Linked DNA regions of Homo sapiens: region 2 is linked to region 1. The links are contacts of gene promoters, found by promoter capture Hi-C in blood cells and fetal thymus (Javierre and others, 2016). All regions are on one chromosome and are shown on one strand. The core of a region is centred on a gene start or on the middle of the fragment in contact, and the rest is flanking DNA. Distances in the headings are between cores, read along the strand shown. Region 1 overlaps MED24 (mediator complex subunit 24). Region 2 holds the start of NR1D1 (nuclear receptor subfamily 1 group D member 1).

Evidence for each region. The method cuts DNA at HindIII sites, captures the fragments that hold promoters and counts their contacts. A CHiCAGO score of 5 or more calls a contact.
Region 2: a contact is called between the fragment with the promoter of NR1D1 here and a fragment that was not itself captured in region 1, in 3 of 17 cell types (erythroblasts, megakaryocytes and endothelial precursors). The highest score is 7.3, in erythroblasts.

Annotation. Positions count from the first base shown.
Region 1 is chr17:40,027,145-40,031,983 of GRCh38, reverse strand. MED24 (mediator complex subunit 24) reads left to right here. Exons shown (of 26, transcript NM_014815.4): 11 at 364-446; 12 at 739-825; 13 at 2,125-2,236; 14 at 3,016-3,158; 15 at 4,038-4,075; 16 at 4,519-4,601. SNORD124 (small nucleolar RNA, C/D box 124) reads left to right here and starts at 4,339; the gene lies at 4,339-4,442. RefSeq lists an enhancer at 4,427-4,839. The HindIII fragment of the contact is 4,950 bases long and covers 1-4,213 here.
Region 2 is chr17:40,098,751-40,103,591 of GRCh38, reverse strand. It overlaps NR1D1 (nuclear receptor subfamily 1 group D member 1), which reads left to right and starts at 3,003. Exons shown (of 8, transcript NM_021724.5): 1 at 3,003-3,528. The coding sequence starts at 3,498. RefSeq lists enhancers at 2,638-2,757, 3,238-3,307, 2,773-3,756, 3,757-4,741, 3,660-4,841 and 1 more and silencers at 4,089-4,178, 4,189-4,538. The HindIII fragment of the contact is 2,156 bases long and covers 2,614-4,769 here.

The DNA of each region.
Region 1 (4,839 bases), core at 489-2,988:
TTCAGGCCCCAGCTGGGCAGTGTTCTCATGCCTGGAAGAGAGCCGGATGTGAGTGTACACCTCAGCGTGCACGTGCTTCACAATGTGCATGCTTCAGCATGTGCGTGTGCTTCAGCATGTGCGTGTGCTTCAGTGTGTGCGTGCTTCAGTGTGTGTGTTTCAGCGTGTGTGTGCTTCAGCGTGTACGTGTGCTTCAGCCAGTGTGTGTGCTTCAGCGTCTGCGTGCACCCACAACATACACCCAGGCTCCAGGCAGAAAGCAGCCAGGCAACTCAGGCCGATGCCTCCAGCAGACAAGGTTGCCTGAGATGATCAGGGCCTGGTGGCCCTGGAAACCAGATGGACACTTCTGCCTCTTTCTAGGACTTCACTGAGGATGTCAACTGTGCTTTTGAGTTCCTGCTGAAGCTCACCCCCTTGTTGGACAAAGCTGACCAGCGCTGCAAGTATGAGCTCCCCTGGTCACCCCCGCCCTACTGGAAGGCGTTCTGGGCTCTTCCCCTGATCTCTGTGCCAGAGAAGCCTCAGGGGACTCTGTCTCCTTGTTCACTCCCCTTGGCAGGGGCAGGAAATAGGAGCCCACAGTTGCCAAGTCCCCAGAGCCCCTCTACCGTCCCTCAGGCACTCCAGATTTTCCTCATCCTGAAAGAGGGAGGATGCTGCTCAGGGACCTGCCACTCCCACCCCTCACCATCCTATCCAGGTGCCCAGTTCCCTCAGCATCTTTCTCCCTCACAGCTGTGACTGTACAAACTTCCTGCTCCAAGAATGTGGCAAGCAGGGGCTTCTGTCTGAGGCCAGCGTCAACAACCTTATGGCTAAGCGGTAAGTGTGAACGCACCTGTGCTACCCCAAGAGCCCCTTGACCTCTCTCTTGTTACGGTGGGGCTGCTGCGTGCCTTTCAACCTCCTGTCGAAAGTTTGGGCTGCAAGTGACTGGGACCGTGCCTGGGGGTACAGGGAACAGGAAGGAAAAGAAAGCACAGATGTCTTCAGACCAGAGTTTTACACTCTTAGTCACTGCTCTTTAACTCATACCCATCTTTGTGATAAAAGTAAAAATCCTAGGCTGGAGGCGGGTGGATTACTTGGAGGCCAGGAGTTCAAGACCAGCCTGCCCAACATGGCAAAACCCCATGTCTACTAAAAATACAAAAATCAGCTGGGCGTGGTGGTGTGTGCCTGTAATCTCAGCTACTCTGGAGGCTGAGGCACGAGAATTGCTTGAACCCAGGAGGCGGAGATTGTGGTGAGGCGAAATCATGCCACTGCACCCCAGCCTGGGCGATAGAGTGAGACCTTGTCTCAAAAAAAAAATAAATAAATAAATAAAAATCCTGAATCTTCCTTTAATCTTAAATGTGCTTTCAGAGCATTTAAGACTAATGATAGGCCGGCTGCGGTGGCTCACACCTGTAATCCCAGCATTTGGGAGGCCAAGGCGGGTGGATCACGAGGTCAGGAGTTTGAGACCAGCCTGGCCAACGTGGTGAAACCCCATCTCTACTAAAAATACAAAAATTAATCAGGCGCGATGGTATGCACCTGTAATTCCAGCTACTCAGGAGGCTGAGGCAGGAGAATCACTTGAACCCGGAAAGCAGAGGTTGTACTGAGCTGAGATCGCGCCACTGCATTCCAGCCTGGGTGACAGAGCGAGACTCTGTCTCAAAAAAAAAAAAGACTAATGATAAATTGCCAGGTGTGCTGGCTCACCTGTAATCCCAGGACTTTGGGAAGCCAAGGTGGGTGGATCACCTGAGGTCAGGAGTTTGAGACCAGTAGAACATGGTGAAACCCCGTCTCTACTAAAAATACAAAAAAGTAGCCAGGCGTGGTGGTGAGCGCCCAGCTACTCTGGAGGCAGAGGCTGCAGTGAGCCGAGATCGTGCCACTGTACTCCAGCCTGGGCAACAGAGTGAGACCTGTCTCAAAAAAAAAGACTAATGCTAAATCAGTGATTGCAACATTGACTATGCTTCCATAAACTTCACCCCAACCTCGGAGGTTCTTACATGCTTCCCACCTCCTCTGCGCATTTCCTTCCGGGCTTGAACGAGGGAACGTGTCAAGAATTTCTCTTCATTCCTCTTCCCTTCCTTGGCCAACTGGTGATGTCCACAGCAAAGCGGACCGAGAGCACGCACCCCAGCAGAAATCGGGAGAGAATGCCAACATCCAGCCCAACATCCAGCTGATCCTCCGGGCGGAGCCCACTGTCACAAACATCCTCAAGGTGAGTGTGCCCTTCCCTGGCCACCACAGTCTTCTCTTTCTTCTTTCCAGTGCTCCATCTGCTTGCAGATAAATAAACAGAGGCCACAGACCTCTGTCTCCTTTAGCTTTTATACATAGTTGCTTTGGAGGTAGTGAAAGGGGAGGCAAGGGCAGCTACCACTGAATGCTAACCCGTGGGAGCTTCATTTGTACACCAGGCACTGCAGTAGGCGCTTTCACTTAGGCCATCTCACATGGAAACAACAGAGACGTGGGTGCGGTGGCTCACGCCTGTAATCCCAGCATTTTGGGAGGCTGAGGTGGGAAGATCCCTTGAGGTCAGGAGTTTGAGACCAGCTTGGCCAGCGTGGTGAAACCCAGTCTCTACTAAAAACACAAAATTCACTGGGTGTGGTGGTGCATGCCTGTAATCCCAGTTACTTGGGAGGCTGAGGCAGGAGAATCGCTGAACCCTGGGGGGCAGAGGTTGCAGTGAGCCAAGATCGCACCACTGCACTCCAGCCTCAGCGATAGAGCGAGACTCTGTCTAAAAAAGGAAAGGACAGAGAAGATCCTAGCCGTGACCTTGCCCACTCCAACCTTACCACCTGCATGCCAGTGTAGATGAGAGGGATGGATCGGAGAGCAGGGGTGGGTTTTAGGAATGATTTTCCAGATTGAAGTCAGAAAGATGTAGATTACATTCCAGGTTGTGAAGAGAGAAAATGTGGCTAGGCTGTATCTTGGGTGGGGGGTCTTCAGTGTTCTTCAGGACTTGATTTCCTGTCCTGTCCCCAGACGATGGATGCAGACCACTCTAAGTCACCGGAGGGACTGCTGGGAGTCCTGGGCCACATGCTGTCCGGGAAGAGTCTGGACTTGCTGCTGGCTGCCGCCGCCGCCACTGGAAAGCTGAAATCCTTCGCCCGGAAATTCATCAAGTGAGGAAGGCCAAGCCCCTGACCCCAGGGCGTGCAGGGAGGCTGCGCGTTGGGAGGAGGTAGCAGGGTAGGAGTCAGGTGCCTGGGTCTGGGTCTCATCCAGAGACCCACGGGCCTAGGCAGAGCATCCTGGCTGGAGATCTTGGAGGAAGGGCCTGTTCTCACGACCTAAGTGTTCCTTTCTCTTCAGCTGAGGATGGAGTGGACATGTTTGGTAAAGAGATGAGGGTAAGGGTTGAGGTGTTGAACATTGGGCATGGAGGAATTCCAAGTATGCCCAGTTATTAATAAGGGGCTCTCAAATTCTGTTGCCTTTTTTGATTGCCCTGGAATTTGACATATATAGAACATGGTTCCATTCAGTGAGCCATTCTCTAGGCCTTGGAAATCTTCTAACAATAAAAATCCTTCTGGCCGGGTGCGGTGGCTCACGCCTGTAATCCTAGCACTTAGGGAGGCCAAGGTGGGCGGATCACCTGAGGTCAGGAGTTCAAGACCGGCCTGGCCAACTTGGTGAAACCCTGTCTCTACTAAAAATACAAAAAATTAGCCGGGTGTGGTGGCGGGCACCTGTAATCCCAGCTACTTGGGAGACTGAGGCAGAAGAATTGCTTGAACAGAGGCGGAGGTTGCAGTGAGCTGAGATTGTGCCACTGCACTCCAGCCTGGGTGACAGAGCGAGACTCTTTCTCAAAAAAAACAAAAAAAAAACAAAAAACAAAAACCACAAAAACCTTTTTTCTATAGCAATGTGTCTCATTTTAAGTTTAACCAGTAACTCAGACTCTAGCTATCGCTCTCTGAACATGTGTAGCCCCAGCGCCCAGCTACTGCTCAGCTCATGCCCTGGTCAATGCAGCCTGTCTCCATTCCTTTCAGTTTGAATGAATTCACAACCTATGGCAGCGAAGAAAGCAGTAAGTCAGCCCTGTGCATCCGCAGGCCCAGTGGGCCCTGAGGAGGGGTGTGGCGGGAGAGTGTGGGAGGGAGGAGGGCTCCCCAGCTCAACAGGGGGAGGCTGTGCTCCCTCCTCAGAGCCATGACCAATGGAAGCTTCCACAGAGCTTGAAAGTGGATAATGCTGGAAAAGGATTCTTCCCAGACCATCCCTGTGTCTCCTTCCCCCCCTCATCCCTTTACGACTTGGTTAGGTATGCCAGGAGAGGGTGCTGGGGGTCTTTGGTCTCAAGGAAGGGATGATGTTCCAGTTGAGACTCAAGAAAAGGATTCTGAGCCTCAGAGCTTTGAAGGAGCCACTTGGTCCCTGACCTTCCTAGAGGCAAATCCCGATCCCTGTCAACCCAGACACGGGCTCCCCCCTGCCCTCGTCTGGGAGCTCAGCCTTCCCGTCCTTCCACAGCCAAACCGGCCTCCGTCCGGGCCCTGCTGTTTGACATCTCCTTCCTCATGCTGTGCCATGTGGCCCAGACCTATGGTTCAGAGGTGAGAGAGGGGAGCGACCGGGACGGGGGCTCAAGGGAAGGAGGTAACCCGGAACTCTCCCCACCTCACTGCCTGCGCCCCCGCAGCCTCTCAGCCAGTTAGTTCTGTGGGCCTCAGAAACCAGGTGCCCACCCGGGCTGGAGTCCGTAGAGGCACCTTCAGCCCTATGTTCACATTGACCACTAGGTGGCAGCATTGCCCCCGTCTGGCTCCCTTAGACCAGTTCGTCCCCAGTCTT
Region 2 (4,841 bases), core at 1,754-4,253, 70 kb before region 1:
AAGAGGAGAGTCAGGCTGACTGAATTTCAGCTCTCTCTACCTCTGCTCCCTCCTCCTTCTCACTGATTGCAGCAGGCGAGGAGTCTTGACCCACCCCAGCTCCCACTCCTAGAAGAACAAACATCCAGCAAGTATACAGGGGGTGGGTAGGACCTCCACAGCAGCAAACAGAGCTGTGGGCCTTGGGGAGGACCCCGGCCAAGTAAAGGGAGGGTGCTAGTGGTGGTGCTGTGCTGTGGGGAGCTAGATGCACGCCAGGGGTCCTGATTTTGAGTCCAGCCCTGACAGACACCTGGGCTCTGGCCCTGGCTCTGACTTGGAGTCAAGGTCACAGAGAGCAGGCAAGGGCAGGACAGGGCAATTCACCTCCTAGCTTTCCCTCCAGAGCCCAGAGGGTGGAGGGAGAGGGGGTGGAGGCTGAGAACCAAGTTTTCCTGAAAAGCCTCTTTCCTTGTTTGTTTTAGCCCCTCCCAGTTGCTCCCACACTCTGCTGCAGCTTCCCAACTCTGGGCCAAAGGGCCAGAGAAGAGCCCACTGCCCTCTCTCTCCCACTTTTCTTGGGAGCAGGAGAACAAAGCTAAAGCCTAGCCCATTCCAGGAAGCTCATCTTCTACAAGGAGTCAGAGGGTGAGTGGTCAAGCTCCTGCAGTCAACCTCACTGTCCTCACTACCCAGTTTACTCCTGTGCTCATATTATTATTCTTTTTTTTTTTTTCTTTTTTTGAGATGGAGTTTCGGTCTTGTTGCCCATGCTGGAGTGCACTGGCGCGATCTCAGGTCACTGCAACCTCTGCCTCCCGGGTTCAAGCAATTCTCCTGCCTCAGCCTCCCGAGTAGAGTAGCTGGGACTACAGGCGTGCGCCACCACGCCCAGCTAATTTTTGTATTTTTAGTAGAGACGAGGTTTCTCCATGTTGGCCAGGCTGGTCTCAAACTCCTGACCTCGGGTGATCCACCTGCCTCGGCCTCCCCAAGTGCTGGGATTACAGGTGTGAGCCACCACCACACTTGGCCTTTTTTTTTTTTCTTTGAGATGGACTCTCACCCTGTTGCCCAGGCTGTTGTGCAGTGGCATGATCTCGGCTCACTGCAATCTCCATCTCCTGGGTTCAAGCAATTCTCCTGCCTCAGCCTCCCGAGTGGCTGGGACTACAGGCGTGCGCCACCACGCCCAGCTAATTTTTGTATTTTTAGTAGAGATGGGGTTTCACCATGTTGGCCAGGCTGGTCTCGAACTCCTGACCTCAGGTGATCTGCCCACTTCAGCCTCCCAAAATGCTGGGATTACAGGTGTCAGCCACCACCCCCGGACTCCCATATTCTTTTTCTCTACCTTTTCGGTGGCTTTCATGTTTCCCAGGCATCCATCAATACCATCCCAGGAGCTGCCTGTGGAGAAGGGCTTCCTATGTGAAGAAAACCCTCTCTAGAAGCACTGGGACTGGGGAGGAATTAGCGGGAGCAGCAGGTGGCTCAGGCTCCCTCTCCCTTCGCTGCCTAAGAAGCTTCCATCCCCTCCATGACCCAAGCCCTCTAACATGATAGATCTCCTCTACTTGAGATCTGTTATTACTCATGGGACAGTTGCTGCTCTGAAGCGAAATACTGGCTGTTTTTTGTTTGTTTGTTTTGGAGACAGAGTCTCACTCTATCCCCCAGGCCGGAGTGCAATGGCGATCTCGGCTCACTGCAACCTCCACCTCCCGGGTTCTAGCGATTCTCCTGCCTCAGCCTCCTGACTAGCTGGGATTACAGGCACCCACCACCACATCCGGCTAATTTTTGTATTTTTAGTAGAGACGTGGTTTCACCGTGTTGGTCAGGCTGGTCTCAAACTCCTGACCTCAGGTGATCAACCCACCTCAGCCTCACAAAGTGCTGGGATTACAGGCATGAGCCAAAGCACCCGGCAATGCTGGCTGTTTCTAACCCCTGTTCAGTATTTCACTTGTACATCTACCCACCTTCCCATTCGGGGTGGGCAGATGAAACTAGCAATGGACGTCTGACCTTGGGTCGGTCACTTCTCCTAAGCTTCCTGTTCCCCACTAGTAAAAAGAGGGAGGCTTAAGATGATCTACATGTTCCCCTCTGAGTAGTAATCTTCTGTGGAATTCATATTTTATCCTCCAGCACCGAGGGGCAGGGGTGTCACTCTGCCCCCACCCCCTGCCTCACCTCTTCCCCATTACTTTAGGACCTCAAAGCACTTTCACTATTAGTTCCCCTCTGTTGTCCTTTTTATTTCCCAGACAAAGGGAAATGACTCACCCCAAAGTCAACTGGAGTGGGTGGAATGGTGTCATACAAGCAAACAGGGAGTCCCTACAGACATCCCTACCTCTGTGGGAACTCCTTCCCCTGGAGGTGTTCTCCCTAAGGCGAGTAGAAGGGAAAGGGGGTCACATTTCCTTTCCTTCTCTGGACTTTGCCCTGAAGCAGAGGGCAGCCTAAGCTCCTGACTCCAGGGAAATCTCCCTCCCCGGCTTCTCTCTCTCCCGGTCACCAGTAACCTCAGGACGAGGTCAGTCCTGCAATCACGTGAAGCCCTCACGTTTGCAAGGTTTGCAGAAAGGGCCTCTTAGCTTTGATCTCCCAGACAGCAAACAAGCTTGCCAGTCCCTCCCCAGAAATTCACATGCCCCTGCCATACAGGCTTTCTAAACACGCCACCCTGACTCTTCAGCGCACCCCACCCCACCCCACTCTCAGCTCCTCCCAGGTCCCGGCAAGCGCTTTGCCAGGCAGAAAGGGGAAAGGCACGCAGTCCGCCCACTTTGTCGGTGGACTACAAATCCCGACAGTCTTGTCGTTGCGCAGGCGCGCAAGAGCTCAACGTGCCGGCTGTTGGAAAAGTGTGTCACTGGGGCACGAGGCGCTCCCTGGGATCACATGGTACCTGCTCCAGTGCCGCGTGCGGCCCGGGAACCCTGGGCTGCTGGCGCCTGCGCAGAGCCCTCTGTCCCAGGGAAAGGCTCGGGCAAAAGGCGGCTGAGATTGGCAGAGTGAAATATTACTGCCGAGGGAACGTAGCAGGGCACACGTCTCGCCTCTTTGCGACTCGGTGCCCCGTTTCTCCCCATCACCTACTTACTTCCTGGTTGCAACCTCTCTTCCTCTGGGACTTTTGCACCGGGAGCTCCAGATTCGCCACCCCGCAGCGCTGCGGAGCCGGCAGGCAGAGGCACCCCGTACACTGCAGAGACCCGACCCTCCTTGCTACCTTCTAGCCAGAACTACTGCAGGCTGATTCCCCCTACACACTCTCTCTGCTCTTCCCATGCAAAGCAGAACTCCGTTGCCTCAACGTCCAACCCTTCTGCAGGGCTGCAGTCCGGCCACCCCAAGACCTTGCTGCAGGGTGCTTCGGATCCTGATCGTGAGTCGCGGGGTCCACTCCCCGCCCTTAGCCAGTGCCCAGGGGGCAACAGCGGCGATCGCAACCTCTAGTTTGAGTCAAGGTCCAGTTTGAATGACCGCTCTCAGCTGGTGAAGACATGACGACCCTGGACTCCAACAACAACACAGGTACTGAGATTTCTTTACTATCATCTTTTCCCTGTCACTGTCTCCCCACCTCCATCTACGCCTTATAAAAAGAGGAACTTTGTAAGGGACTGGGGTGTCCCTCGGCCCGGAGATTTGCTAACGTGCTGCGGTGCTTTAGTGTGGGATTTCCAGAGCGGCTTGTTCGGGCTGGAAATGCTCTCAGAAACGCCCCATCACCACCCCTCAGAGTCCCAAAGCTCCCTTGAGCCTCGAATCCCTGGGCAGGAGGAAATGGAGAGGAGGTACGGGTGGTGAAGCGAAGAATTTAGGGGGACTGGGAGCTTTGGAACAGTGCCCCGAAACGGCCCCATCTGTCCACTACCTGCAGCTGTAGTATGCCTGGCCTCAGAAAACGGACCCCCTCCCCTCTTGTCTTCCCCCTCCTCTAGTTCCTGCAGGCGCGAGGGAATCTGAGAAGAGTGGCGCGATGGGGTTCAGGGAAGGAGGGGCTGGGAGAATCGTTCGGATCTCACTGGGGAATCCTCAGTGACAGGAGGGAGCGACACTTGAGGAGTCCAGAGCGTGGTGCCCGGCCCGAGGGAGGGCACCTACAGGGCTCCGGCCGCCGGGAGGGCTCACATGGCTCTAGAGCCGGGCCCACGTGCTGCGTTTGTTTTCATTCAGCAGAAGCCGTGGCTGCCACCCCATTGGTCGTTGCCTCCCGGCCTCGTTACATAATGAGCTCCGCCCCCCCGGTCGCCCCGGCAACGCGTGTTCCCTTCTCTCCTCCCCTAGGTTGTCCTGGCCCTGCTATCGTTCGGGGTCCAGCCCACGACCTGGTGGCCGGGGAAGGGCGGGTAGGAGGCGGGGCGACTGCTCTCGATTGACGGGAAGCGAGGAGGGCGGGGCCTCGAGTTCCGGGGTTCCTCGTTGGGGAGCCACGTGCGAGAGGCACACGTGGAGCAGGGACGTGAGGCCGGCTGAGGGCCCAGCTCCCGCCCTGCCCCGCCCCGCCGAGATCTGGGTGAAGCTGGGCTGACTCACCGCCCCCGCCTGCCTCCTTTTCCGGTCCGCCTGCCCGGCCCCCTCCCCCATCACCAAAACAAAGTAACATGGAGCCATTCCTGACCTTTCATGGCCTTCTGTTTTACACTCCCTAAAGAGACCTCACCCCTAACCACCCTTCTCACTCCTTTCCACTTCACTCTTATTTGCACCTACTTCACCGTACTGCATTTAGACTCAGCTTCCCCACATTACAAATTCCTGTTCCCCAAGCTTCTCTCTCCTTAGTTCTGCGAGCATTGTCTTACCCCCATCTCCACCAGACAAGCTGCAGTTTGCCTACTAAG